7 separate regions of the Homo sapiens genome follow, and regions 1, 2, 3, 4, 5 and 7 are each linked to region 6. Evidence: promoter capture Hi-C in 16 types of primary human blood cells and fetal thymus (Javierre and others, 2016). All regions are on one chromosome and are shown on one strand. Each heading gives the region's core, a stretch centred on a gene start or on the middle of the fragment in contact. The rest is flanking DNA. Distances are from core to core; before and after follow the strand shown.

Region 1 (4,309 bases), core at 300-2,799, about 43 Mb before region 6:
AGCAACTTTGGGGAGTTACCCTATATAGTCTAAAAAGGGGGCCGAGCATGGTGGCTCACGCCTGTAATCCTAGCACTTTGAGAGGCTGAGGCAGGTGGATCACCTGAGGTCAGGAGTTCAAAACCAGCCTGGCCAACATGGCGAAACCCTATCTCTACTAAAAATACAAACATTAGCTGGGTGTGGTGGCGCATGCCTGTAATCCCAGCTACTTGGAAGGCTAAGGAAGGAGGATCGCTTCAGCTCCAGAGGTGGAGGTTGCAGTGAGCCGAGATCACGTCGCTGCACTCCAGCCTGCGCGACAGGAGCAAGACTCCATCTCAAAAAAAAAAAAAAAAAAAAAGTGGGGAGGAACCCTCAGTTCCACGAAATATCCACCCTTTTTTAGCATACAATCAAGAAATAACTGGCCAGGTAGGGTGGCTCACACCTGTAACCCCAGCATTTTGGGAGGTGGAGGCAGGCAGATCACTTGAGGCCAGGAGTTCAAGACCAGCCTGGGCAACATGGAGAAAACCCATCTGTACTAAAAATACAAAAATTAACCAGTTGTGGTGGTGTGCATCTGTAATTCCAGGTACCAGGATGGTTGAGGCATGAGAATCGCTTGAACTCAGGAGGCAGAGGTTGCAGTGAGCCAAGATCACACCACTGCACTCCAGCCTCGGTGACAGAGTGAGACTCTGTCTCAAAAAAAAAAAAAAAAAAACAAGTATAGGTATATTCAGTCAAATAGCCCATAACATTGCTCTGCCTATGTAGTAGTTATTATTTTTTATTCCTTTTTTTTTTTGAGACGGCGTCTTGTTCTGTCACCCAGGCTGAAGTGCAGTGGTGCAATCTTGGCTCACTGCAACCTCTGCCTCCTGGGTTCAAGCAATTCTCCTGCCTCAGCCTCCCGAGTAGCTGAGACTACAGGTGTAAGCCACCATGCCCGGTTAATTTTTTATGTTTTTGTATAGACGGGGTCTCACCATGTTGGCCAGGCTGATCCTGAACTCCTGATCTCAGGTGGCCTGCCCGCCTTGGCCTCTCAAAGTGCTGGGATTACAGGCGTGAGCCACTGCACCCAGCCCTATTCCTTTTCTTTCTTAATAAACTTGCTCTCATTTTACTCTACGGACTTGCCCAGAATTCTTTCTTGTGAGAGATCCAAGAACCCTCTCTTGGGTCTGGATCGGGACCTCTTTCCGGTAACAACTATAGCGATTAGTTTTGCTGATTTTAGAACTTTCTATCAGTAGAATTATTTAATATGTACTCCTTTTTTCCATCAACATTTTGTCTAAGATTCCCCCACACTTCAAATGGGTTGTGAAGACTGAGAAAGGCTTACACAAGCACAGCAAGTGTGAGAGCATTGCAGGGATGGAGATATAAAAGAGCAGTGTGTGCTTGACCAGAATTAGTTTAGTGTGACTCAAGCATGCAGTTTGAGAGGGCAACGGCAGGAGAGGAACCTGATATAGTCAAGAGTTGGCAGTGTTGAATTTTACTTGGACTTTTTGCTCTTGGAAAACAGTAATGTTACTGGAAAGGGGTCCTGGCTGGGTGCAGTGGCTCACATCTGTAATCCCAGCACTTTGGGAGGCTGAGATGGGCAGATCACTTGAGGTCAGGAGTTCGAGACTAGCCTGGCCAACACAGTGAAAACCCGTCTCTACTAAAAATACAAAAATTAGCTGGGTGTGGTGGCGCATGCCTGTAATCCCAGCTACTTGGCAGGCTCAGGCACGAGAATCACTTGAACCCAGGAGATGGAGGTTGCAGTAAGCCGAGATCGCGCTACTGCACTCCAGCCTGGGTGACAGAGTGAGACTCTGTCTCTCTCTCTCTCTCTCTCTCTCTCTCTCACACACACACACACACACACACACACACACACAAAAGAAAAAAAAAAGAAAAGAAAAGGGGTCCTGATCCAGACCCCAAGAGAGACTTCTTGGACCTCACACAAGAAAGAATTCTGGGACAGTCCATAAAGAGAAAGAAGGTTTATTAAGAAAGCAAAGGAGGCTGGGTGTGGTGGCTCACGCCTGGAACCCCAGCACTTTGGGAGGCCGAGGCGGGCGGGCCACCAGATGTCAGGAGTTCAAGATCAGCCTGGCCAACATAGTGAAACCCTGTCTCTACTAAAATATAAAAAAGTAACTGGGCTTGGTGGCTTGTGCCTGTAGTCCCAGCTACTCGGGAGGCTGAGGCAGGGGAATCGCTTGAACCCAAGAGGCGGAGGTTGCAGTGAGCCGAGATCACGCCACTGCACTCCAGCCCAGTGACAGAGCAAGACTCTGTCTTGGAAAAAAAAAAAAAAAAGAAAGAAACCCCATTTGTATTAAAAAAAAAATACAAAAATTAGCCAGGCATGGTGGTGTGTTCTTGTAATCCCAGCTTCTAGGGAGGCTGAGGCAGGAGAATTGCTCACCATATTCTAGGAAGGCTGAGGCAGGAGAATTGCTTGAAACCAGGAGGCAGAGGTTGCAGTGAGCAGAGATGCGCCATTGCATTCCAGCCTGGGCAACAGAGTGAGACTCCATCTCAAAAAAAAAAAAAAAGAAAAAAGAAAAAAAGGGAGTAAAAGAATGGCTACTCCATAGGCAGTGTGTGGTGGCATGGGCTGCTCAATTGATTATGCTAATAGTTACTTCTTGATTATATGCTAAACAAGGGGTGGATTATTCATGAGTTTTCTGGGAAAGGGGTGGGCAATTCCTGGGACTGAGGGTTCCTCCCCTTTTCAGACTGCATAAGGCAACTTTCTGACATTGCCTTGGCATCTGTAAAAGGTCATGGCAATGGTGGGAGTGTCTTTTAGCATGCTAATGCATTATAATTAGCGTATAATAAGCAATGAGGATGACCAGAGGTCACTCTCGTCACCATTTTGGTTTTGGTGGGTTTTGGCACGTTTCTTTAGCACAACCTTTATCAGCAAGGTCTTTGTGACCTCTGTCATACCCTGATCTCCAGTTTTATCCTGTGAGTAAGAATGCCCAACCTCCTGGGAATGCAGCCCAATAGGTCTCAGCCTTACTTTACTCAGCCCCTATTCAAGATGGAGTCATTCTGGTTCAAATGCCTCTGACAGTAAAGGTTAAGAAATCCTTCTTGGCCAGGTGCAGTGGCTCACGCCTGTAATCGCAGCGCTTTGGGAAGCCGAGGTGAGCAGATCACCTGAGGTCAGGAGTTTGAGATCAGGCGGGCTAACATGGTAAAACTCCGTTTCTACTAAAAATACAAAAAATTAGCCGGGTGTGGTGGCATGCACCTGTAATCCCAGCTACTTGGGAGGCTGAGGCAGAAGAATCGCTTGAACCCGGGCGGTGGAGGTTGCAGTGAGCCAAGATTGCGCCATTGCACTCCAGCTTGGGCAACAAGAGTGAAACTCCATCTCAAAAAAATAAATAAATAAAAAAAAAAGGCTGGGCGTGGTGGCTCACACCTGTAATCTCAGCACTTTGGGAGGCTGAGGCGGGTGGATCATGAGGTCAGGAGATCGAGTCCATCCTGGCTAACATGGTGAAACCCTGTCTCTACTAAAAATACAAAAAATTAGCCGGGCGAGGTGGTGGGCGCCTATAGTCCCAGCTACTTGGGAGGCTGAGGCAGGAGAATGTCATGGACCTGGGAGGCGGAGCTTGCAGTGAGCCAAGATTGTGCCACTGCACTCCAGCCTGGGTGACAGAGCGAGACTCCGTCTCAAAAAAAAAAAAAAAAAGGAAAAAGAAATCCTTGCTGGGCAAGGTGGCTCACACTTGTATTCCCAGCACTTTGTGAGGTGAAGGTGGGAGGATCACTTGAGTCCAGTAGTTCAAGACCAGCCCTGGCAACATAGCAAGACCCAGTCTCTACAAAAAATGAGAAAATTAGCCCGGCATGATGGCATGCACCTGTAGTCCCAGCTACTCAGGAGGCTGAGGTGGGAGGATCCCTGGAGCTCAGGAGGTTGAGTCTGCAGTGAGCTATGATCACTCCACTGTACTCTATCCTGGGTAACAGAGGGAGACCCCGTCTCAAAAAAAAAAAAAAAAAAAGATAAAGCAAAAAAGAGAAATCTTTCTTAACCTTTTTGTGCTTCAGAAAATGTTCACTACAAAGAAATACCCATTCTCATGTCACTTAAATGACTCCTGGTTGCCTCCCTTGTTTACTGTGGCAAGGTCAAACACAGTCCTTCTGAATTCCCATTCTTTGCCTCATAAATGATTACAGAGCTGCTTGTCTCCATTGACCAGTTGGAAAAAATGCTTATTAACCAAACTTGGGTTAAGCTTCTTTCCTTTCCCCAGGCTCCTTACTTTAACCTACTCTC
Region 2 (4,324 bases), core at 1,009-3,508, about 130 Mb after region 6:
AGAAATTGTTCCGGATAGAGACTAAAGAGTCATGGCAACCAATGTAATAAATGGATACTTCACTGGATCCAGGACCAAGAAAAATAAATAAATAAAAGAAGTTACTAAGTTACCAGTTACTTTCATTGTAACACATCCTGTAAATACAAATATCTCTTCTTTTTTAATCCATCCAAACTTGACACAGACTTGAGTATCACAACAAAAACATCTTCGGTAAAGTTTTTCGCACCTCACCCAGCCCAAGAGGATGCTTCTGTACTTATAGATGTATTTACTTCAACAAATGCTGGACATCTACAAACCCCATATACTGTCTTGTCCACAGCAGGCAGCAACAAAATGAGGAAGGAATAGAAATGTCGGAGGTGAGCGACTTCTCCAAGGTCACTCACTCCTCACCAAAGTGGGCTCCGGCTCTGCCATCCAGGCGGCCGTTCCATTCTTGAGTTGTTCTCGGCATCTCGGCATCTCGGCAACCAAACAAGATCCAAAGTTGGAGAGGTGGGCAAACCTACTTTATACATCACTTACCCTGTGCAGGCAGGGACCTGAGGAGTTATTAACGATCGGGAAGATTTCAGGGCGGATGAAACTCTCCTACAAAGAAGGGCCAAACCGGCCGCAGCCATGTTTTCGCATAACTGGCAAAACGCGTTTCCGCCAACGATAGCGTCACTTCCGGCGTCTCAAGCCGGCGGTGAGGAGAATAGAAAACTTGCCCTCACTTAAGATGGCCACATCCTGCCTTTGTCCTCATTGGTAAATTGGCTCTCTCAGCTTCCGTGACCCGCCTCCCTTCTTCCTCCTGCCCGTAGTAGCCATGGCGGCCATGAGTTTGTTGCGGCGGGTTTCGGTTACTGCGGTGGCAGCTCTGTCTGGCCGGCCCCTTGGCACTCGCCTCGGATTTGGGGGCTTCCTCACTCGTGGCTTTCCGAAGGCTGCTGGTGGGTGCTGGCCTAGGGAGAACGGGCGTGAAGCGGGTGCGGGGCGAGAAAAGGGAGGACGCTTCCAGGGTGACCTTGGTGGGATCCGGAGGGAGCCGGGACAAGTTGTGGGCTTGGGGCTTGACAGGAGAGACGGAGCACGAGCTATATGAGGGGTTTTCCTGAAGTAGCCAGATAGATCGTGTTTACATTATTAGCATTTCTAAAACGTTGTTATTCACCATCCCAATTAATGCTAATTTGCGGATGAAGCTGAGTCTAGAAAGGTATAGAGCTGAGATCTGTATCTCTAGGGCACAAGCTTATTGTTGCGTTCCACCTGCCCAAAGGCTAGGTTCTAGTCCCACAGATGCAAAGTCATCTTGCCGAGAAGCCCACCTATGCTAAGGAATATGAAGACAGGTAATATGTAGACAGGTAAAGAGGCTCAGGGCCAACTTATTCTTTAGGCACAGTAAGTACCGTGCCGCCCAATAATGAGATGCAGATGAACTGGGGAGGAAGAGAGGTTTTTGTTTTGTTTTGTTTTGTTTGTTTGTTTTTTGAGACAGAGTCTCACTCTGTTGCCCAGGCTGGAGTGCAGTGGCGCGATCTTGGCTCACTGCAACCTCCGCCTCCTGGGTTCAAGCGATTCTCCTGCCTGAACCCATGATAGTTTTAGGGGTCTACGAAAGTCTTTTAATTTAAATTTCTTTTTTAAAAAAACCATAATGTTTATGAATATGATAACGAATCCAGCCTGTATTATGTTCGTTTTATACCAATGCAGTCATAAAATATTATTTTTAATAACTTAGACGAAGGGGCCCTTGAAGGCAAAAGTGCCTAGGTCTCAGGAAAGTCATAATACAGTCTTTTTTTTTTTTTCTTTTGAGACAGTCTCACTCTGTCACCCAGGCTGGAGTGCAGTGGCACCATCTTGGCTCACTGCAATCTCCACCCCCCGGGTTCAAGCGATTCTCCCGCCTCAGCCTCCCCAGTAGCTGAGGCTACAGGTGCACACCACCACGCCTGGCTAATTTTTGTATATTTAGTAGAGATGGGGTTTCACCATGTTGGCCAGGCTGGTCTCGAACTCCTCACCTCAAATGATCCGCCCACCTCAGCCTCCCAAAGTGCTGGGATTATAGGCGTAAGCCACTGCACCTGACCAATACAGTCTTAATAGGGCTATTTGGACCTCCTTGGAGACAGTGAGTTGCATCATGGCGGTGTGAATAATCATAGCAAAGATCAAATGCTTGATATTCAGTGTACTTTATTATCTCAGAGACTCTGCAAAGAAATTACAATGTTATTTTCATTTTACAGATGAGGAAACTGACTCAATTATTAAATAATGTGTCACTAAATAATAGCCAACATTTACTGAGCACCTGTTACGTGTCAAGCATCCTTTTTTATTTTTATTTTTTTCAAGACGGAGTCTTGCTCTGTTGCCCAGGCTGGAGTGCAATGGCGTGATCTTGGGTCACTGCAACCTCTGCCTCCTGCGTTCAGGCGATTCTCCTGCCTCAGCCTCTTGAGTAGCTGGGATTACAGTTGCACGCCTCCATGCCCGGCTAATTTTATGTGTTTTTAGTAGAGATGGGGTTTCATCATGTTGGCTAGGCTGGTCTCGAACTCCTGACCTCGTGATCCACCTGCCTTGGCCTCCCAGAGTGCTGAGATCACAGGCGTGAGCCACCCCACCTGACCTCAAGCATCATTTTAAGGGTTTAAAGTATTAATTTATTTAATCCTCTTCATTAGATATATACTGTAAGCTATTTGCCCTGTGCAATAGAAGCAGGTAAAGAGGAAGTGAAACACTTAAAGTCAGAAAGTTGTCTCCAGCCTCAAAATATCTTGTTCTCTTTTTACCCCTATTCTCCCAGTTTAATTTGAATTATGCCACTCCACAGGATGAGGCAATATACATAGGGATTTGCTGGAAACATGATGCAAAGAACCAGTGGTATTTAACAAATTTCCAGCAGGAATTTGAACTTGTTACAAAACTACATTCCTTGATGAAAATCCCTTTATAAGCCATTTCTGATTACAGATATTCTCATATAGCCAAATACAAATCCTTCAAATACTCGCTCTGGTAGTATTCAATCAAATCCAGCTGGAGATAAACTGCAGCAAAATTTCACCCCCAGTTTCTCTTTCCACATTATTGCCCTTTCTTGGGGTTCTCAAAGGATCATTACCGTGTTCTGCGCCCTTTCCAATCAGAGCAGGGAAGGTTCTAATAGCTATGTTTACTAAAGGTTACTGTGTTTTCAGCTGTGTACCTGCTTTCAAAGGTATTTTGCATCTGTCACTGTGATATGAAAGCTTTTAATCTCTTACATGGTTGTTTATATCTGTCCCTACAAGAATGTAAGCTCTAATGTAGTAGAGAGCCTGTCTTGTTTTGTTTTTTCTGGAGATAGACTGCCTATCTTCAAATTCTGGCTCTAGAATTCAGAAGCCATGTCTGTGATCATCACATCTTGGAAGCTAAAGTGGAAGACACCTAATTGCTCATAACCTGCATTTCCTCCTCTTTAAAAAAGATGAGAATTTTAACCTGCCTCAAAAGGTAGTTGTGAAGAGTGAGTGGAAAAAATCAACAGTGCCTGGCAGCAGTAGCCTTTAAAAAAATTGTGGTAAAGTACACATAACATTTACTATTTTAACCATTTTTAAGTGCACCGTTCAGTGGTATTAAATACATTCCTAATGCTATGCAACCATCACCATCATCCAACTCCAGAACTTTTTTCATATGGTAAAACTAAAACTCTGTATCCGTTAAACAATAACTCTCCATTCCCCTTCCACGTAGCCCCTGGTAACCACCATTCTGCTGTCTTTATGATTTTGACTACTCTATTTCTCATGTAAGTAGAATCATATAATATTTGTCTGTCACTTAGCATAATATCCCCAAGGCATATTTATGTCGTAGCATATGTCAGAATTTCCTTCCTTTTTAAAGCTGAATTGTCCGTTGTCCATTGTATGTATTTACCCCATTTTGCTTATCCATCATCTGTCAATTGGGTTGCATCTAGGTTTTGTTTGTTTGTTTGTTTGTTTTGTTTTTGAGACAGAGTCTTGCTCTGTCTTCCAGGCTAGAGTGCAGTGGCACCATCTTGACTCACTGCAACCCCTGGCTTCCCGTGTTCTCATATCAAACTGAAGGTCAGGCTGCTATTTCTTGCCATCCAATAATGAGATGCAGATGAACTGGGGAGGAAGAGAGTTTTTTTTTTGTTTTGTTTTGTTTTTTTTTGAAACAGAGTCTCACTCTGTTGCCCAGGCTGGAGTGCAGTGGCGCGATCTTGGCTCACACAGCCATCTCTGCCTCCTGGGTTCAGGCGATTCTCCTGCCTCAGCCTCCT
Region 3 (4,054 bases), core at 986-3,485, about 42 Mb before region 6:
TTTTTCATACGAGGAAACAGAGGTCCTAAGAGGAGCAGTAAATGTTCCAAAGTCACACAGGAAAGTGGTGAAGTCGGGGTTTGAACCTAGGGCTACCTACCTCTAAAGGCCAAGGTCTTTACCACCATGTTTAAGTGTCCTCTACAGCGGCTTGCAGGGTGAGAGAAGGAAATGGGAAGAAAGCAGGCACTCAGGCATCAGCCAAGAGTCAGGAGCAGCAGCAGTAGCCGCAGCAACAAGCAGGAGACCAGGGCAAGGGAGCGGAGAGAGGCCGTTTGTCTGCGGCCCCTGGTGTGGGCATGGTCACTTCCGTTCATTTTTACTACATATCGCCCTTGCCCAGGGTGCCGGAATCAGAGTGCACTCACCGTGGAATTACACTGAAGCCTCTCACCCAAAGACAGTGAATAAATCTCATTACCAGCCGGTTCCTTTTTTATTTCCTTCCTTCCCTTGGGGAAATAATTCAACGTCATTGGATTTTTCCTGTTTGCAAAAGTAATCCATGTTCATAAAAATGTAAACATTATGAAATACATACATCATGCCCCAGAAATAGCCACGGTAATCTTTGGCACATATTCCTTCCAATATTTTTCTATGAATATATTAACATTAAAAACAATTTTAAGTGGATTCCTAGGATAGATACTATTTTGCAATTTGCTTTTTTTGCACTTAGCGTATCAGGGACAATGTTCTGTGTCAGAATATATAGATTTCCCTCATTCCATGTATTAGTAGCAAATTATTCTAAGATATGGATATGCCATAATTTTGTTTAAAATTTTTTGTTTAAAAGAAAGTGTTTAAACATTTTCTTTCTCTTTCTTTCTTTCTTCTTTTCTTTTGTTTCTTTCTTTTTTTTTTTTTTTTTTTGAGAGCGAGTCTTGCTCTGTCACCCAGGCTGGAGTGCAGTGGCACAATCTAGGCTCCCTGCAACCTCCACCATCCGGGTTGAAGTGATTCTCCTGCCTCAGCCTCCTGAGTAGCTGGGATTACAGGTGCCCGCCACCACATCTGGCTAAGTTTTGTATTTTTCGTAGAGACAGGGGTTTCACTATGTTGGCCAGGCTGGTCTCGAACTCCTGACCTCAAGTGATCCACCCGCCTCGGCCTCCCAAAGTGCTGGGGTTACAGGCATCCTGGCCTGTTTAAACATTTTATTGTTGATGGATGTAGGTTATTTCTAGTTTTCACACCTGCAAACAATGCTATCATGAGCATCCTTGTACATTTTATGTGCATGAACAAGTATTGCTATAAGACAGATTCCTAGAAGGGGAATTGCTGGGTCAGAGTGTCAGCACGCTGCTAAATTCCCCTCCAAAAGATGGTGCCAATTCACACACCCACCAGCAGAGTTCAGCCCTTGATAGAAATAAAGATGCTGCAATGTTTCTCCATTTGTCTCCCTTACAGGCGTTCACACCCAATTATCAGCAATTTTCATGTTCACAAACACTTTTCTTCCTGCAATGCAAAACCACCAGCTGGAAGGTTCCATCACATTCCTGTGTGCATTTTGCCTTTCCCCAGAAAGAGGCAGAAGCAACGTAGCCACGAACACATTTGTATTCTTCAGCAGAAATCTCCCTGCTCCTGGCCCTTCATCCACCCACTCTCTTTTAAATTACCATGGCTTGTGAAATTAGAGGCTATTAGGAAGACCCAGTGTTCTATATAATCGCTTTAGGGTTCTGTTGGAAAGCTTATACCAATGAAATAAACATGTTAGAGAGCCACTTACAAATATAGATAAATGCCTGGTGACTCGAGTGAATATTGGGCCTCATTCTTCTGATTTATCTAGCAGTTGTCTTTGTATTCCTTAATAATGACCTTGTCAGGCTTTCACTAGGAGAAGGTTCATCGAATCCATGTAATCCATTTTTTTTAAAGCCCTGTAAAAAAACATCTATGGCTTTAATGCTTTTTTTTTTTTTTTCTAATCAGTGTTTAAGTACAGGAGAGAAAAATGTTTGGGGAAGAATAAAAATCCAGGCTCAGTGGTTCTTACAATTAGCCACATGTTCAATTGGTCTGCTGATGGAGGGGAAGGAGAGGGGTCTTGATCTCCATCTTGTCAGAGGTGGGTCACCCTGTCCCATTTGTCCATTCTCGGCTGATTGATGGTTAGAACTGGGACAGACTGGGAGCATTTTTTCGTTTTTTCTTTTCTTTTCTTTCTTTTCTTTTCTTTTTTTCTTTTCTTTTCTTTTTTTTTTTTTTTTTTTTTTGAGACAGGGTTTCACTCTGTCACCCAGGCTGGAGTGCAGTGGCACGATCTCGGCTCACTGTAACCTCTGCCTCCCAGGCTCGAGTGATCCTCCCACCTCAGCCTCCTGAGTAGCTGGGATTACAGGCATGTACTACCACACCAGGCTAATTTTTGTATTTTTGTAGAGAATGGGGTTTCACCATGTTGTCCAGGCTGGTCTTGAACCCTTGAGCTCGAACAATCCACCCACCTAGGCCTCCCAAAGTGCTGGAATTACAGGCGTGAGCCACTATGCCCAGCCAACTGAGAGCATCTTAATACATCTTTAGTGTCTGATCAGGGGCTTGAAGGTACCACCTGGGTTGGAATCCAGGCCCCAGGATTTAATAGCTGTGTGACCTTGGACAAGAAGACTTAGCCTCTCTGTGCTTTCCTTTCCTCATCTGCAGCCTGGGGAGAGTAATGACACCTCACTCACAGGGTTGTTGTGACAGCAAATGAAACAGTATCTAGAAAGTACATAGAATAGTGCCTGGAGTAAGCTTTCAATAAACGGAGGACATCCTCCTGAATTCTTAAGAGACAATGTACAAAAGGAATTAAGAAGCATAATTATACCTACATCTTTATGGCGTTTAGCATTTTACACAAAGCACTTTGCAGACATGATTTTATTTAGCTCTTAAAACAAATCCTGGGAAATTAGTAGCTACTATTTCAGTTTTACAGATGGATAAACTGAAGCTTAGAAAAAAGAATTGATGTGCCTGAAGTCACAGGGCTAATGGCAGCTGCTAATACAGCCTCCAAGTCCAATCCCTTTCCTCTTGCACGAGAAAAATAACACGGGGTGTTCATTTCACCAAGGGACCCATTCATTCATTGATTCATTCTCCCATTGAAACCTTCCTCATCCTTTAGTCCCAGCTCAGCTATCAAAGTGTTCTGTTCTCTGTGCCTTCCTAACCCTTTGCTTTTAGCTCTCTAGCTCTTGTCTTAAATATCAGATATGTCCATCAAGTACAATTATAAAAGGCTTAGGGGCCCTTTGAGGTCAGGAACCATATCTTATTAATCTTTCTGTCCTTTAGTGCCTAGTACAGTGCCTGAAACAAAATTTCTGCATTTGCAAATGTTATAGTCTGGTGGCAAAAAATTCACATGCATGCAAAAAAAAATACACTATGGAGAGTATAAACCAGATCTATACCACCGCAATGGTAAGACAGCAGGGGTTACTTTTTCTTCAGGGTTTCTGGGAAAGCTTCTTAGAGGGATGACATTTGGATTAGACCTTGGAAGATGACCAGCAGTTCACCAGAGAGTACACCGTGAAAAAATTCTAAGAAGAAAGAATTGCCTCCATACTGGGTCTTAGAATCCTCCTTCTAGGGGGACACTGAGTTTTCCAGTGGAGTTCAGGAAGACCATGGACTTTTACAGTACCAAAGAAATGAATAAATAATGGTGGAATTCCAAAGAACAGAGCAGGTATCTCATCTGAGAGGCAGAATGTGGAATCTGGATTGAGACTGCTTGGTTTCAATTCTCAGCCACTGATGATCTGTGTGACCTGGTGCAAGTTGGCTCTGTGTCTCAGTTTCCACAAGTATAAAATGGGGATAATAAGAGCGTCTACCTCCCAGAGTTGTCATGACAACTAAGCTGGTTAGATCAATCTCTGACATGTAGTGAGTACTACGTATGTGTTTACCCTTCTGATTCTCCACTATCCCTGAAATTCAAGCTGGTCAGCAGCTGCCCACTTTATCTCTCTGTAGAACTGGCCCTGAATTTTGGGAGAAACTGAATTGGCAAAGAACTGAGTTAGAA
Region 4 (3,869 bases), core at 1,243-3,742, about 39 Mb before region 6:
GGCATGCCAGGGTGACTTTGTCCTGATATTAGGGTTACTAGGGTCCTTTTCTAGTTGTCCTGGATCTCAGCATCCTGCCTCCAACCCTGGTATTCCCACGCATACCAGAGGTGGATCCACAGGTCATCTCCCCTGCAGATTCAGCCCCTTCCCAGTTCCCAAGTATCTCTGGGCTTGAGGGGAACATGTATTATGTTGCTCAACACTGTCCTGGTTGCAAGTGACAGAAAATGGAAATTTATTGGTTTGTGTGATTAGAAAGTTTGAGGGTGAGTGGGTGCAGTGGCTCACACCTGTATTCCCAGCACTTTGGGAGGCCAAGGCAGGATGATCACTTGATGCCAAGAGTTCAACACCAGCCTGGGCAAGATAGTGAGACATGTTTCTACAAAAAAAAAAAAAATTAAATACCCAGGCAGGCCACCAGCAGCATCAGGCTCATGCCCAGCTGAGAAAAGACAAGTCTCTATCCCCTCATCCCCAGCAGCAACCCTGAGATGTGCGCTCTGGCCGAGCAGGCACAGTGCCTGGAGGAATGCACCACACCTACTGGCTCAGACTTGGGTCATGTGCTAAACCTGAGTGGGGAACCTCAGCTGGACAAATGGTGGGAGGCTAGCTCCCCAGACAAAAATCGGGGGTTCTTGCTAGCAAAGGAGGGTGGGATGCTATCAAGACAAACCGTAGCCATCTACTGCATGTGTCAGCCTCATGTTGTGGCCCAGGGAGCTTTGCATGGAGCCTGGTCCTGGGTGCTTTCACCTGGGACCCCATGTCCCTGCCCTGACCACTGACCCCTTCTACAGATCAGTCTTGGAAGAATGGGTTTAATACCACCTGCTTGTGTGTTGTGAGCATTCAGTGGAGCATGTCAGGAAATGCTTAGTTCATTGTGCAGAGGCAAGTCTTTATGCCACCCAAGTCATCTGCTCCTCCTGGATCCAGGAGCCTTGCAGACAGGCTGGGGCCATGACACTGAGTTCTGGCCAGTGGAATGTGGATGGCAATAGTGTACACAATTGCTTCCAGACCTGGCTATCAAACAACCCATGCCATCTTCTGTGGTATCTCCCTGGCCTATGATATGGAAGCAAAGGGCTCTGAGATGGTGGAGCCACCTGATGCAGTAAGTCCCAATACCTGGGTGCTGTGGTTTGAATAAGGTGACCTGCAAAACACATATTGAAGTATAATTGCCATTGTAACAGTATTAAGAGGTGGGACCTTTAAAAGGAGATTAAGCCATGAGAGTGGGATTAATGCTGTCATAAAAGGGCAAATTCAGCCCCTTCTTGCTCTCTTTTGTCCTTCCACCTTCAACCCTGTACAGACAAGATATTCTTCCACCATGTGATAGTGCAGCAAGAAGGCCCTCACCAGACACGAGCACCTTGATCTTGGACTTCCCAGCCTCCAGAACTGTGCTAAAATAAATTTCTGTTCATTATAAATTATCCAGACTGTGGTATTTTGTTATGGCAGCACAAACAGACTAAGAAACGTAGTCACCATGTGTAGGAGAGCAACAAATAAACCTTTGATATGTTAAGTCAGTGGTTCTCCAAGAGGCAATGTCTGGAAATATTTTTGGTTGTCACCACTGGAAGTAGGGTGGGGAGCTAGTACTGGCATCTAGTGGGGAGAGACCAGGGATGTGGCTGAATATCCTACAATGCACAGGACAGCCCCCACAACTAAGAATTATTCAGCCCCAAATGTCAGTAGTGCTGAACTTTAGAATCCCTGCTCTAAAATGTGGGCACCTTGAGAGACGGATGTTGTCATTGTCCTTCTGAAAACCTTCCAATGGCCTCTATCACACTCAGGATAAATTTCCAGTCCCTTACTTTGATCTACAAAGCCCCACAGGACCTGGATCCTGCCCACCACCCCTCCTACCTCACATCCCACTTCTCTTTCTCACCCACTTCTGGACCTCTTTCCAACCTAAGGACTTCATACGTGCTGTTAAATCCTTAAACACATTTCTCCCTGTTCTTCCAGGTATTCAGTTATGGCTTAAACATCACCTCCTCTGAGACACCTTCACTCGTCACAGTCTGTATTAGATTCATTCCCACCTCTTGATTCTCTATTATCGCACCACATTGCCATGATCCTTTCACAGCAATGACCGTGATGTAATGTGCCCTGCTTCCTTGTGGGGGTGTGGTAGGGGTGGTGTCTGCCTTCCCTCTGGAGTGTGAGGAACATGAGGACCAGATAAATAATGGATAGAAAGAGCCATCTTTGCAGTCAGACAGCCCTGGATTTTACTTCTTGTTCCAGTACCAACTGTGAGTCCCTTCACTCTCCCGGCCTCCATCTCCTCATCTGCAGAATGGGAATAAGAATACTCACAGGTTGCTGTGAGGATTAAATGGGATAGTGTAAAGAGAGCACTTGGCCCAATTCACAGTAGAGAACAGTCACTTAGAAAGTGTCTTGACTATCAAATGCATGAATAAAAGTGTAAGCACAGTCAAGTCCCTGCATGCTGTTGTTTTTAGGGATGAACTCTTGGGAGGAAGGTGGCATTGGGGTGCCTGGGTGGAGGCTCCTTGGAATGGAAGGATGAAGAAGGTGTGTGCTTGAGAACAGAGCTCGGTTTCCCCAGGCAGCTTCTGCATCTACCTCTCTTGACACAGCACCACAGGGGCTGGCAAGCCCTCATTCCTCCTTTAAAACTGCGACCCTAGCTCCCATCCTTCAAGTCACTGTCCCCAGGACTGTTCTCCCTGATGCCTCTCTCTTGCAGGACCCAGGAGGGAGGCGGCCACCGCTGTTATGGTCCTTCTTTGGAGAAACACACCCCTCCCCCCAAGAGTGCCTCCTAGCACTGTCTCTATCTGTGTCTGTCTAGACCAGGCAGGAAATTAAAGTGGGTATCAGGACATTTGCAACAAATAGCTCAGGCCCCAGGCTGAGACCCACGTGTCTACAAAAAGGAATGTGATTGAGGGACCTCTTTCTTTCAAGTACAGTCTCATATCAGACTGTTGGGGCCACACAGAAACTTGGATTGTTTCCATCTCTGCATGTATGAAGGGTAAAAAGACAGCAGGGAGGATGCAGAGATGATGGTGAACCAGGGGAGACAGGTCCAAGAGCCCTGTCTCCTGGGAGAGGCAGGGGACTGCGAGCTTAGGCGCTCCCGCATCGCTGCAGGTGGGCCAGTGGAACTCCCTGAGCCTCCATTCCCTCATCTGTGAGGTGGACATGTTAACATACCTGCAGCTTAGGCTGCAGTGAAACATAAACGAGTTAAAATATGTAAAGCACTCTGATCTTTATGCTTTCCTTCCTTCTCCTGATTTTGGGCTTAGTTTGTTCTTTTCCTAATTCCTTGAGTTGTAACGTTAAGTTACTTATTTGAGATCTTTCTTCTTTTTTTGATGTAGGCACTTGTTATAAATCTTTCTTCTTTTTTGATGTAGGCACTTGTTCATTGCAGCATTATTCACAACAGCTAAGATATGAAACCAGCCTAAGTGTCTATCAATAGATGAGTGGATAAAGAAAATGTGGTGCATATATGTATGCAATGGAAAATATTCAGCCTTAAAAGGTGGGGGGAATCTGTCATTTTTGACAATGTGGATGAACCTTGAGGACATTATGCTGAGTTAAGTAAGCCAAGTACAGAAAGACAAACACCGCATGATCTGACTTACTGTGGAATCGAAGAAAGCTGAACTCACAGAAGTGGAGGGTGGGATGGCGGTTAGCAGAGGCTGTGGGAGAGGGGTGGATGGGGAAAGGAGATGTCGATCAAAGGGCACAAAGTCTCAGTTGGACAGGAGGAATAAGCATTAGTGATCTACTGCACAGTACGGTAACTATAATAAATAGAAATGCATTGCATATTG
Region 5 (3,819 bases), core at 1,015-3,514, about 72 Mb after region 6:
ACACATTCCCACAGAAGTTAAACTTTTGAGAGGGCAGGGGAAGCAACGAGGACAGATATCCTTCACATGTATCTCTCTCCTTTCCGGCAAAAGCAAGGAGGAAAAAGCATCCGGCGAGAAGACTTAAGTGACATACTCAAAAGAGAAGGAGTGTGGGGAGGTCGCAGATTCTGTAGCCAAGACGGCTGGGAAAAGGACGGAGCGCCACGGACAGGGGACCCGCGGCCTAACCTCGGGGCTGACCCGCCGCGCTCCCTCGTCTCCTCCGCAGGTCCTCAGGCAGTGCGTCCAGTCAAGCCCGCTCGGCAGTTCCCGCCGCAGCCCCCGAGATACAGCCAGGGCCGGCGCGCGCAGCCGGGGAGGAGGGTCGGGGAATGAGGCCGCCGGGGGCGGGACGCCGGCTCCCGGGGCCGCCTCTCCCAGGGCCAGAGGCGAGCCACTCGGGACAACTTCCTCTTATGCCCCTGGCCCGGGCCCTCGACTGGGTTCCCAGGAGCCGGTGAGTCTCTCGCGCTATCTCCAGACCCAAGCGCGAATGCCAGGGCCGCGGCCGCCGCCCCACCCACAGCCCCACAGCCCCACAGCCCCACAGCGGGTCAGCCACCCCCCGCCCCCTGCTCCCTTCCCGCCTTCCCTTCCGGAGTAGCGTGAGCTCACTTCCCTCACAGCCGAAGCGTCTGGCGCCATCTTGGGTCAGGGCGGCGGGTCCCTGAAGGAGGCGGAGGCTCTGGGAGCTGGTAGCTGGGCGACTGGCTGATGGGCGAGGGAGGGCGAGGGAGGGCGCCGCAACGGAACGAGGAACCCGGACAGTGAAGGAGGAAGAAACAAAGGAGCCAGCAGCACTAGAGAGTTCCCTTCTGGTGTGTGAGTGCCCGCCTTCCTTTTTTTTTTTTTTTTTTTTGAGACGGAGTCTCGCTCTGTCGCCCAGGCTGGAGTGCAGTGGCGCGATCTCGGCTCACTGCAAGCTCCGCCTCCCGGATTCACGCCATTCTCCTGCCTCAGCCTCCCAAGTAGCTGGGACTACAGGCACCCGCCACTACGCCCGGCTAGTTTTTTGTATTTTTAGTAGAGACGGGGTTTCACCGTTTTAGCCGGGATGGTCTCGATCTCCTGACCTCGTGATCCGCCCGCCTCGGCCTCCCAAAGTGCTGGGATTACAGGCGTGAGCCACCGCGCCCGGCCGAGTGCCCGCCTTCCTAACCACGTCCTAGCCTTCCATTTGAGGGGCCGTTCCAGGCATTTTAGGAAGAAAGCTTACAAAAATAAGAAAGTACAAGAACGAAGCAAACATCTGTACGTTTTAGTTACTTGGGGTGGGGGGGGGGCAAGCATGACATTGGAGTAAAGCCAATCATTATTATAAATTAAAAAGAAGCTGTCATGGAAATTAGAGATCTCAGAACAGAGCTAGGTACTCTTCCAGACCCCAGACAAATCTTTCACCTTGTTTAGGCCTTGGTTTTGGATTTGTAAAACAAGAGTGCATGGGTAGATTTCTAAAGTCTCTCCTAATTGCTAATTTTAGTTTATAATAACATGACTTGAGGCTGGGCACAGTGGCTCACGCCTGTAATCCCAGCACTTTGGGAGGCCGAGGTGGGCGGATCACTTGAGGTCAGGAGTTCGAGACCAGCCTGGCCAACATGGTGAAACCCATTCTCAACTAAAAATACAAAAATTAACCGGGCATGGTGGTGCGTGCCCGTAATCCCAGCTACTTAAGAGGCTGAGACAGAAGAATCACTTGAGCCTGGGAGGCGGACGTTGCAGTGAGCCTGAGGAAGGAGAGAGACCCTCTCATATTGTTTTATACTCAGTACCTGTTTTAAGAAAAAAAGAAACAGCAAGGAAGTAAAACCAAAGACAGGCAGCCCAGCGCCAGGCCGGAAACCAGGCCTGGGCCTGCCTGGCCTAAACTCAGTAGTTAAAAATCAACTCATAACTTAGAAACCGATGTTATTCATGGATTCCAGACATTGTGCAGCAGAACATTGTGAAACTCCCTGCCCTGTTCTGTTTCTCTCTGACCACCGGTACATGCAGCCCCTGTCATGTACCGCTTGTTTGCTCAAATCAATCATGACCCTTTCATGTGAAATCTTTAGTGTCGTGAGCCCTTAAAAGGGACAGAAATTGTGCACTTGGGGAGCTCAGATTTTGAGGCAGTAGCTTGCTGATGCTCCCAGCTGGATAAAGCCCTTCCTTCTACAACTCGGTGTCTGAGAGGTTTTGTCTGCGGCTCATCCTACTAAAAGCTGAGATTGCGCCACTGCACTCCAGCCTGGACAACAAGAGCAAGACTCAGTCTCAACGAAAGAAAGAAAAAAACAAAAACCGGCCGGGCATGGTGGCTCACTCCTGTAATCCCAGCACTTGGGGAGGCTGAGGTGGGCAGATCACGAGGTTAGGAGATCGAGACCATCCTGGCTAACACGGTGAAACCCCATCTCTACTAAAAATACAAAAAATTAGCCGGGTGTGGTGGCGGGCGCCTGTGGTCCCAGTTACTCGGGAGGCTGAGGCAGGAGAATGGCATGAACCTGGGAGGCGGAGCTTGCAGTGAGCCGAGATTATGCCACTGCAGTCCAGCCCAGGCAACAGAGCAAGACTCTGTCTCAAAAAAAAAAAAGTAAATAAATAAACCTACCGTACAACCCAGCAATCCCACTACTGAGTATCTATCTAAAGGGAAAGAAATCAACATATCAAAAGGATACCTGCTCTCACATGTTTACTGAAGGACTATCACAATAGCATAAATATGGAACCAGCCTGTGTCCATGAACAGATGAATGGGTAAAGAATTTGTGGTATGTAGGCCAGGCACGGTGGTTCACGCCTGTAATCCCAGCACTTTGGGCAGCTGAGGCTGGTGGATCACCTGAGGTCAGGAGTTCGAGACCAGCCTGGCCAACAGGGCGAAACCCCATCTCTATTAAAAATACAAAAATTAGCTGGGCATGGTGGCGCACACCTGTAATCCCAGCTACTCTGGAGGCTGAGGCGGGAGAATTGCTTGAACCTGGGAGGCGGAGGTTGCAGTAAGCTGAGATCGTACCACTCCAGCCTGGGTGACAGAGTGAGACTCCATCTCAAAAAAAAAAAAAAAACAAAGACAAATAATGGAAAGCCAGGTGTGGTCATGCACACCTGTAGTCCCAGCTACTTGGGAAGCTGAGATGGGGGGAATCACTTATGCCCAGGAGTTTGAGGGTAGCCTGGGCAACATAGAAGACCTGTCTCTTTAAATAAATACATAAATATAAAAGTGGAAAAAAGCTTGTGGGATAAAAATATAAAAAACATGATTCTAAGTGAAAGATGCAAGACGCAAAAATGTCACATACTGTATGCTTCCATTTATGTGAAATGTCCAGAATAGGCAAATCCATCGAGATAGAAAGTAGATGAGTGGTTGCTAGGGATAGGAGAAAGGAGGAATGGGAAATGACTGCTAATGAGTATGGGGTTTTCTGGGGGTGGGGGTAATAAAAATGTTCTAAAATTCGATAATAGTGATGGTTGTACAATCTTGTAAGTATATGAAAACTCGATTGTATACTTTAAATGGGTGAATTTATGGTGGATGAATTATATTGTGATAATGCTATTTTTTAAAAAACAAATTCTCTAGCTGCATGGAGAATTAATTTTAGTGGGAGAAAAAGAGGAAGCGGGGCGACTAGGTAGGAGGATATTATAGGGAATGAGGGCAGAGATCATAGCGGCTTGGACTAGAGTGGTGGCAGTGGGGATAGAGAGAAGTAAATGGATCCAAGCTGTGTCTGGGATGGGGCTACAGTACTGCAAATGGACTGG
Region 6 (4,296 bases), core at 844-3,343:
TAAAGTTGTTGAACCTGGATGTATGACAATGATGAAGTTGCTCTGGATTTGCTGCAGATATAAAACATAGATGTGTGACTTTGTAAATAATATGCAGGTAACAAAGTTAAACAACATACACATAACAAGCTAAACTAAGAAGCTGACTCAAAGGTATCAAAATAATTCAATAAAGTTCTTTGAGAAGTATCCAATTACCGCTCTCTACCTAAACACAAACTCATTGTTTATTATGTTCCCTTGACCTGAGTTATAGTACATAGCTCAACAAATATTTGTTTAAATAAATGAAACAAAAATTGTCCACTACAAATTAACATACAGTTATTGAGCATTTATGTGACTGAAGAAATGTTGCTATAGAATCCGGGCCCAGGCTCTGAATTCACGGATCTGTCTGCAAATTCAGACTGCCACTTCCTTGCTCTGAATGAAGCTCCTAACTCACAGTTACTGTGAGAATTAAATGAGTTATACATGTAACTCAGAGCTGGGCCACAGGAAGCATTCGAGGAATGTTGGCTCTTACTATAGTAAAGCCTTTCAACGTGATCCACTGCCTTCACAAGAGGTCAGACTCTGTGGCTTACACGACCCTCATGATATGGCCCCTGCTAAGATCTTCAGTCCCCTTCCTTAACTCCAGACATCCTAATCTACTGGCTGGGCCTCCAACACTTCACATCCTCTGTTGGCACAAGTGTCTTCCACACTGTTCTTCTTCCCTGAGATTCCCTCCTCCCTCTGGTTAGCTCCTAATCACCTTCAGGACTCTAAACAGATGTCACCTCACCTCCTTTGAAGAAACCCTCCCTGACTGTCGGGGATGGAGGAGGTACTTGCTTGAGTGCCCAATACTGCCCTCTGCACAAGCCCATTCCATGCCATGCTCTGATACCTGTTGTCCTATCTCCAAGTGTGACCTCTCTCCTCCTAATCACCCCCCACAGAGTGGGAGAATCCTAGAGGGAAGGATCTGGCAAGGCCCTTACAGACCATCCAGTCAGCCTTCTCAACTAGACAGATGGAGAAACCAGGCCTGTGCAACAGTAATGGCCACTCTGGGCTTACGGTGTGCCAGGCACTGTCATACTAGTGATAACTAACTAGTAGCTGCCCTACTAGTTAGGTATTATCCTTAACCCATCTACCGGTAAGGAAGCTGGATCAGAGATGTCCTACATGAATTTCTGAGCAGTTTATGCCTCATTTCTTCTGTGAATTGTACACTGCCTGTGCCCGTTTTCCTACGTGAATGCTGTTTTAGTTACTGATCAGTAAGGTTTTGTGTATGTGTATACATCTAAGGTCCTCTGCCAGGCACGCTACTGCAAATAATTTTTTCTGGTTAGTTTAGTTTGGTCTAATAGTGTTGTTTTTGATACACAAGCTCTTAATATATATTTAGACAAATGTCCACCATTTCCTTGCTTTTAAGCTTGAAATGACTTCCATTATCTGAGATTTCCTTAACAAAGGAAAAAGCCTGGACCCCAAACTATCCCTTAACAAGCACAGGCTGACGCTCCCAGTGAGCCAGCCTGGTCCTAAACTCTATCTGCCACCATTTAACCCTCACGGCAACTTGCGAGGCGGCTGGTTATCACCGTGGTCGTTTTATGGTCGGGGAAGCTGAGGCCAGAGCCCGGGCAGGAGCGCACACAACCAGACGGTGGGGCGTGCGGGAGATCGGAGCGGTGTCCCTGCGGGGGCTCCGCCTGGCTCCTGGCGCTCCGCACCTCCCAGCCCTCGGCGTCCCGGCGCGCCACCACCCGGAAAAGAACGACCGCTTCCGCACTCCCCCCACCAGGGGCTGGGGCCTGCAAGGGGGACTCGAAGCCTCCCGCCGCCTCCCGCCCCTTGCCTGGCAGCGGAGGACCCAAGCAAGGGCAAAGAGTTCCAACCCAGCCAGAGCCGCACCTCTTGCAGCGACTCCGGCACCAGCGCGGGCACGATGGGCCGCTTCACGCCGCGCTGCTCCTTCTCCTTCTCGCCGCCCTTCTCCTTTCCGTTCTCCGTATCACCCTTCTCAGCCTGGGTCATTATGGCCGGAGACACCCACCAACCTCTCGCCTCAGCGCTGCAGCCACGACTGCCGGGATGGAAGGGCCACCGCGCAGGCGCACGGCCGGCTGCCCACAGTCAAGATGGCCGCCGCGGAGTCGCCCCAGAGGGCTCCGAAAAGGCGGGGGTGGGGCTGCCCGGCGCAGGGGCTGGGGGCGGGGTGTGCATGCGGATTGATTGGGTGGGTGTTGCTGTGATTAGTCCTGACTGTGTAGATGCCAGCAACATAGTACACATAGCTTTTCGAGCGCCTAGTGGGGGTCGGCTGATAACCCGCATCTTATTTCGTCCTCACAGGCATCTCTTCTCCTGGCTTCCCAGATACCATATGTACTCTTAGTTTTTCTCATATGTCTTCATGTTCAGTCCAGCCTCTGATGTTGGGGTTAGGTCTTTTCCAGGCACACTCCTTGGGTGACTATCCAGTTTCCTGGCTTTAGCAATGAATACGATTCCCAAATATATATATCCAGGATGAACCGCTCAGAGAGATCCGTACTGATAACCAGTGCCTACTTGGTCTCTCCATCTGGATTGTCTACAAGGCACTGCAAACTTAAATATGTCCAAAATTTAACTCTTGATTCCCTCCCCTCTCACTTTCACCATCTCAGTAAATGTCATTTTGATTCTTCACTTGTTGACAGCTTCTACATCCAATCCATCAGTAAATCCTGCAGTCTCTAAAATAGATCTTGAATTCATCCACTTCTCCATTCCCATGCCACTACCTAGCCCAAGCCACTATCATCTCACCTGGATGACTACAACAGCCTCTTAACTCGAACTCCTTGTCCTGTCCCCCTATGATCTGTTCTTATATAGTTGCCCACGTTGTTTTAAAATATTACGTAGTTAATACTACTATGTACCCAGCACTCCACTAAGACTTACCTCAAAAATTAGATGTCACTCATGCTTTAAACTCTAATGGTTTCCCTTTGCTCAAAGAACAGAATCTAAACTAACCACCACCTAAAGACCATATCTAGTTATTGCTACATTTCTAAGTTCACCTCACAACACTCTCCCCATTCCTTGGCATTTCCAGCTACACCTGTTTTATCTTTCTCAGACATGCCAAGCCCTTCCCGTCATCGGGCTGTTGCACTTGCTGTTCATTTTGCCTTGGATGCTCTTCCCTCAGCTGTCTCATTCTCACGTCTGAACTCAAATGTCACCTCAGGCCTTCCGCAGTTATTCTCTCATCATCCTATTCCCTTTGAAGCATGAAGCATTAGTCTGTAATTATCATGCCTGCTCACTGTCTCCCACACTAGAATGTAAGCTCCGTGAGACTTTGCCAGTTATCTTCAGCACATGGTAGGTGCCCAATAAGCATGTGATGACTAAATACTAAATAAAGAACTCTTGGAGGTAAAAATTTAATCCCCGTTTTACAGGTGAGTGAAGTGGGATAAAATGGCATAATTCACTCAAGATCATAAGCTATTGAGTAGCAAAGACAAGAGTTAAGCATAAAGTACTCAAGAACCTGTGTTTTACATTCTATCTGAAGTGCAAAGAAGAATACCTGAATGTCAAATGCAGCCAGAACTCTGGGATAAGACCCGAGGAACAAGTCCTGCAGCAGCAGTGCTAGGAGGCAGAAGAGGACCATGGTTCACATGCTCAGGAAGAGCCATCAGTAACAACAATCAACCACCTACTGAGACTCTGCCATGGTCTCCCCGCTATAGGGTAAGGTGGAGGTTTAATAATGCCTCTGCCATTCACTGGCAATACAATCTAGGAAGCTGCCAAACTTTACTGAACCCTTGCATGTATCTGTATAATGCAAATGTCATTATACATTTACCTCACTTTGTATATATGTATACATTATACATATCCCTCACTTTGTCAGAATTTAAAATGTGTAAAAATTTACAGGCTGGGCATTGTGGCTCACACGTGTAATCCCAGCGTTTAGGGAGGCCATAGTGGGAGATCACTTTAGCCCAAAAGGTCAAGGCTGCAGTGAGCAGCCACTGTACTCCAGCCTGGATAAGAGTGAGACCCTGTCTCAAAAATAAAAATAAAAAATAAAAATAAAATAAAAATTAAAAAATAAATAAAATCTGACACATAATTGAGGTGGCCAGCAAACTGTTATCCTTATCCTGAAACCTGCATTGTAATTGCTTCTTTATCCTGAATATTGGTATCTTATGCCACAACATCCCATTTCCCGACAAACGGGGTTGAATAAATGCTGATAAATCAATATAA
Region 7 (4,300 bases), core at 705-3,204, about 82 Mb after region 6:
AGTAAAAGTCTCACCAGCTAAAAAGCACTTCGAGTACCAACAGCCTTCCCCGGCTCGCTGTTAACCGTCAAACCGTCAAAGCATTTGTGGAGGAACCTGGGGCAAAGTTCCGCGCCGGGTTCTCCAGCTGTGGGTTCATCAGCTTAGCCCACCACTCCCACGTAACACCAGTTTGGGGAAATGCAAACACGCCACATGTGCCCACATGTGCATGTTTTGATCATGTTTAACCACTTTTAACCGCCGTAGGTACGTAATCAGCTCCCGCGGCAAAGGTTTAAGAAAAAAAAAAAAAAAGCCTTGTGCATGCATCTTACCCCCACTTAAACCACCACCACCAGATGAACCGAGGCGAATTAAACCATTTTGAACGTTAACGCCGCTGCACAAAGCGGTATGAAAGGGTTCTCTGCCTTTCTGAAACGCCGGGCAAAAGTCCCTCAGCAAGTTTCAAAACTAATGACCGTACAGCGCTGCACAAATAACAAAAGCTTAATACCAACCACCAGGCCGTCAACCCGCTCACGTTACCACTGCCCAGAAGGCTTTTAAAAACAAGCATTGAAAAGGGAACAATAAAAAGCGTCTCACCGCAAACACAGCACGAAAGGGACTGTCGGAAGTAAGGCAAGAGCCTGTTAATCTCAGTAAACGCCTTGGGGTCTCCGGGGTCGTAGTTGAGCACTAGGCGGCTCGCGGAAATGTAGAGAGCAGTAGCATTCACGGGGTTCATTGCAGACACTTCGACACCAATGGCTCCCGGTTGAAAAGAAATTCCGGATCCAACTTAGTAAGCAGCCAGGGAACGATGGCGAATTTGCAACAATTCGGAAGAAATCAGAGCCGAACCATTGGCCAAACAAGTAACCAAAATCCGTGCAAGTTTGTGGAGCTGAAACAATCCTCCCACACATGGGGCCTTGGCGCCCCTCCGTCCCTGAGACTTCCAGACCAAAAATATGAGAGAGAAACCAGCGTTCGAGTTCGTCCGGAGCGACCACAGAGCGCAGAACGCGGCGGCTTGGGCGCTCGGGGCGGGACTCGGAGCTCAGTCTAGCCCCGCGGCTCGGCAGGCGGCCTGCACTCGAGCTCCATCTCCGGACACGGAGGCGCCTCCTCAAGTCGAGCTGGCAGGCGCGGGAGCAGGCCCCGGCCCCGTCTGAGGCGCGGCACGCTTCTCCCGGGCTGCAGGGCCTCTTACTCCATCCCAGTACAGGGCGCGGAGGCGGCGGCGACGGCAAGGACGACGGTCGGGCAGCGGCTTCCCGGATCTAGTGCAAGACGCCGCGGCGGCGACGAAGGTTGATGTTGCGGCTGGCGGACGCCGCCGCCGCGCTCTCCATATCGGACGCGGGGCCCAGACTGCGCCCTGGCTCTCCGCCCCGTGGGTTGCAGCCCGCAGTTCCCCGAGGTGGCGAGGCGGGCGGGAGTCCTCAACCCGGAGGGGAAGGCCGGGGAGGAAGTGCGCGGGCCGCCGCCGGCGGGCGGGAGGGGGCGGGGGGCAAGCCCGGCCGGGCCGCGGCGGCGCCCCTCGCGCCTCAGTCGCACACTCCGGGGTCACCAGACTCAAGCGCCGCCCCCTCACTGCCCGGCCATTTTTTCGGCGCCACACACACAGACGACTCCTCCGCCGAGCACGACGGCCGCCGCCGCCCTCAGCACTCCCCGGCCGCGGAAGGCAAGCGCTCACACCGCCAGGCCCCGCCGCCGCCCAGCGCACACAGCAAGGCCCCGCCGCAGGCCCCTCCCCCGTGCCTCGCCGCCCTCACCCCGACTCCACGCGCCACTCCAGCTCGGTAGGGCCCGGGCTGCTGCGGCCTTAATGGATCCCGCGGGCTGTGTGGCGCCTCAGGCCTCTGCTGGCGGCGACGACGACCGTTACCCCAACGGGCAAAGCCACTGTCATCCCCGAGACTCCCCCGCCGCCGTCGTCGCTAGCGCTCGCACGCATGCGCAGAGCACACTCTCACCCCTCCCCCCTTTCCTCTCCCTTCGCTTCCCTTTTCCCTTGCTTCTCCTCTAACAACCCCCTCCACAGCCTCCCAGAGCTACCGGCTCACTCCACGCATGCGCAAGCTGCTACCTAGCTCCGCCGCCTTTCGCCCTTCCGCGTGCGCTTTGACCGCCCACCCAGAAAACCGGATAAACACATCAGCCTGCTCGCGCCAGTCCCTCACCGCTGCCAACCCACCCTGGGCTCACTGCGCATGCCTGGCTCTCCACTTCGACTCTCAGAATGGAGCATGCTCTCTGCGAGCCGACAGCTCTCTTCGCCCCTCCCCCACGTGCTCTCAAATTCCCTCTCCCAGGCATGTGGGCTGTGGTGAAACATTCGTTAGCTGGCACATCCTTCCCCAGTGTGGGCTGCAGGCTTCCCGCATTACACTGCTTCTGTGCCCGCCAACGCCGGGGCCCGACTTGGTAGCGCCATGTGGCGCTCTGCACTGGCCTGAACGCGGCCTCTCGTCCTGACTGACCGCGGTGTGAGGAAATAGCCGCGCCAGGCCCCAAGCCCCGCCCTCGCGGCCTTTCTCCTGGAACCGCTCATCCCGACCGCGGAAAGGGCGCAGCCTCGGCTGGCTGGCAGGCTCTCGCCGAGCCGGGAAGGCTGCAGTAGTCAACGTGGCTGCGCGCCCAGCAGGCGTGCGGACGGCTTTTGCCGGGTCGGGGCCGCGTTCCGCACCTCTCTGCGGTGGTTCGCAGTCAGAGGGCTCTAAGGCCCTGGCAGGCTGTATGTAAGCGTGGAGGCTCGAACCCACTGCCCCCTCCTACCCGTCGGACCCGCGCTGTTCCCACGGCCTCTGGCCCTTGGACTCGTGCGGCCTCACCTTCATGGGTGCCGATCAGGACTTCACCGAGCTCTCACCGGAACAGAGTCCTGTTTTAAAAACAAAACGAACTCCTTTTTTTTTTTTTTGAAAGACCTAGCTTTTTTAAAAGACCTAGCTCTTCTGTGTGAACAGATGTCTTGAAGAATGCGTGATCTTGCTCTAGAACAAACCCAAATCCTTGCAAATGTTTTGTTTTTTAAAACAAGCTTTTGCCTTTTGTTTTTGCAGGAGATCAAGGGCACTGGGATATAAATAAACAAAAGCCTGACTTAGTAGATGACTTCCCTCCCATCTCAAAGTACAAAACCTTTTTTTGAGTAGCACAAATAGTAACAGGCCATAGGAAGCATTTCTTATCTCTGTACACACCAAAGCTCCTCAGCATAATTTTTCATGCACAGTAGGTACTCTATACGTTTGCAAAGTGAAAATTATGATGCGTGTAAATCTATTGTGGCACATGTTACATATGTACACAGGCACGTATATGGAACATGTAAATGTGGTACGTGTTAGTTACAAGCTGCCACTTGAGGTGAGTAGGAATAGTTAAGATATCAAGGGAACACATATAATCTCGATTTATAATTTCTATTACCATTTGAAGACAGGTTTTTTTTTCACAAGACCTACCATATTATCAACACTTAAATATTAAGCAGTAAGAATATAACTTCCTAATTTTGATTAGCTGTGCAAACTGTATTTGGTTGTCTTATACGTGGAAAATGACAAATATTCTAAAAGCCACTCTCATTTTTAAAAGCTCTCTTTTTTTTTTTTTTTTTGCATAAGAGATCTTTTCTAAGCTCTCCTTCAAATAAAATTGTTACACGGTTCTATTTTTACTCCAGACTCTAAGGTCTTCTCCCACAACACAGAGGTGGTTCTCCCCAAAAGGAGCAACACAGAGTAAAATAATCAGCACTGTTTTCCGTTAAGACAATAAATTAGCAGTCACCCTAAGCAAGTGATTACTTGCAGGGCATTAACCTTGCTAATTTTCTCATAACTGGATTTTTACAAATGTCTTCAGATGTGTACACCCCAAATTAAGATTAATTCTGTTGATCATTCGTGTGCATGGACGTGAGAGAGAAAACGTGTGTTAAGCCAGTTCTTTTTTAGCTTCTGAAATTGGTTGCAACTGGTAATAAGAGTATTGTACTTAGAGGCAAAGAATCTTGAGGTATATTCTCTTCTAATATTTATTGGCTTGCTTGAGCCTTGCCTAAAAGGGAAACAAATGAATTGTTTACAGAAAATGAAGTGCTTCAGCAAAGAAACTATCAACAGGGTAAACAGACAACCTACAGAATAGGAGAAAATGTCTGCAAATTATGCATCCAACAAAGGTCCAACATTCAGAATCTATAAGGAACTTAAAAAAATCAACAAGCAAAAAACAACCCCATTAAAAAATGGGCAATGGACATGAACAGACACTTCTCAAAAGAAGACATAGGCCA

What was found. The method cuts DNA at HindIII sites, captures the fragments that hold promoters and counts their contacts. A CHiCAGO score of 5 or more calls a contact.
Region 1: a contact is called between a fragment that was not itself captured here and the fragment with the promoter of ACTR8 in region 6, in 1 of 17 cell types (non-activated CD4 T cells). The highest score is 6.7, in non-activated CD4 T cells.
Region 2: a contact is called between a fragment that was not itself captured here and the fragment with the promoter of ACTR8 in region 6, in 1 of 17 cell types (non-activated CD4 T cells). The highest score is 11.6, in non-activated CD4 T cells.
Region 3: a fragment that was not itself captured here is called in contact with the fragment with the promoter of ACTR8 in region 6 in 3 of 17 cell types (naive B cells, total CD4 T cells and activated CD4 T cells); the score reaches 8.2 in naive B cells.
Region 4: a fragment that was not itself captured here is called in contact with the fragment with the promoter of ACTR8 in region 6 in 1 of 17 cell types (total B cells); the score reaches 6.9 in total B cells.
Region 5: a fragment that was not itself captured here is called in contact with the fragment with the promoter of ACTR8 in region 6 in 1 of 17 cell types (naive CD8 T cells); the score reaches 12.6 in naive CD8 T cells.
Region 7: the fragment with the promoter of MSL2 here is called in contact with the fragment with the promoter of ACTR8 in region 6 in 1 of 17 cell types (total B cells); the score reaches 6.9 in total B cells.

What each region holds. Positions count from the first base shown.
Region 1 is chr3:11,266,155-11,270,463 of GRCh38, forward strand. No RefSeq gene overlaps it. Among named protein-coding and RNA genes, the nearest start is that of ATG7, 4.1 kb to the right of the region's middle. The HindIII fragment of the contact is 5,434 bases long and covers 1-4,266 here.
Region 2 is chr3:179,603,993-179,608,316 of GRCh38, forward strand. NDUFB5 (NADH:ubiquinone oxidoreductase subunit B5) reads left to right here and starts at 802. Exons shown (of 6, transcript NM_002492.4): 1 at 802-947. The coding sequence starts at 824. It overlaps MRPL47 (mitochondrial ribosomal protein L47), which reads right to left and starts at 646. Exons shown (of 7, transcript NM_020409.3): 1 at 535-646. The coding sequence starts at 632. RefSeq lists enhancers at 1-802, 728-927, 803-1,669, 1,108-1,267, 1,298-1,387. The HindIII fragment of the contact is 2,024 bases long and covers 1,247-3,270 here.
Region 3 is chr3:11,848,787-11,852,840 of GRCh38, forward strand. No RefSeq gene overlaps it. Among named protein-coding and RNA genes, the nearest start is that of TAMM41, 3.9 kb to the left of the region's middle. The HindIII fragment of the contact is 1,052 bases long and covers 1,710-2,761 here.
Region 4 is chr3:14,641,041-14,644,909 of GRCh38, forward strand. No RefSeq gene overlaps it. Among named protein-coding and RNA genes, the nearest start is that of CCDC174, 8.8 kb to the right of the region's middle. The HindIII fragment of the contact is 9,073 bases long and covers 1-3,869 here.
Region 5 is chr3:125,594,961-125,598,779 of GRCh38, forward strand. OSBPL11 (oxysterol binding protein like 11) reads right to left here and starts at 537. Exons shown (of 13, transcript NM_022776.5): 1 at 1-537. RefSeq lists an enhancer at 85-144 and a silencer at 245-654. The HindIII fragment of the contact is 2,026 bases long and covers 1,252-3,277 here.
Region 6 is chr3:53,880,059-53,884,354 of GRCh38, forward strand. ACTR8 (actin related protein 8) reads right to left here and starts at 2,094. Exons shown (of 13, transcript NM_022899.5): 1 at 1,921-2,094; 2 at 1-51. The coding sequence starts at 2,043. RefSeq lists silencers at 1,721-1,830, 2,221-2,310 and an enhancer at 1,981-2,060. The HindIII fragment of the contact is 9,111 bases long and covers 1,437-4,296 here.
Region 7 is chr3:136,194,381-136,198,680 of GRCh38, forward strand. MSL2 (MSL complex subunit 2) reads right to left here and starts at 1,955. Exons shown (of 2, transcript NM_018133.4): 1 at 592-1,955. The coding sequence starts at 733. RefSeq lists enhancers at 743-812, 863-912, 912-1,658, 963-1,032, 1,659-2,405 and 2 more and a silencer at 1,373-1,762. The HindIII fragment of the contact is 2,546 bases long and covers 490-3,035 here.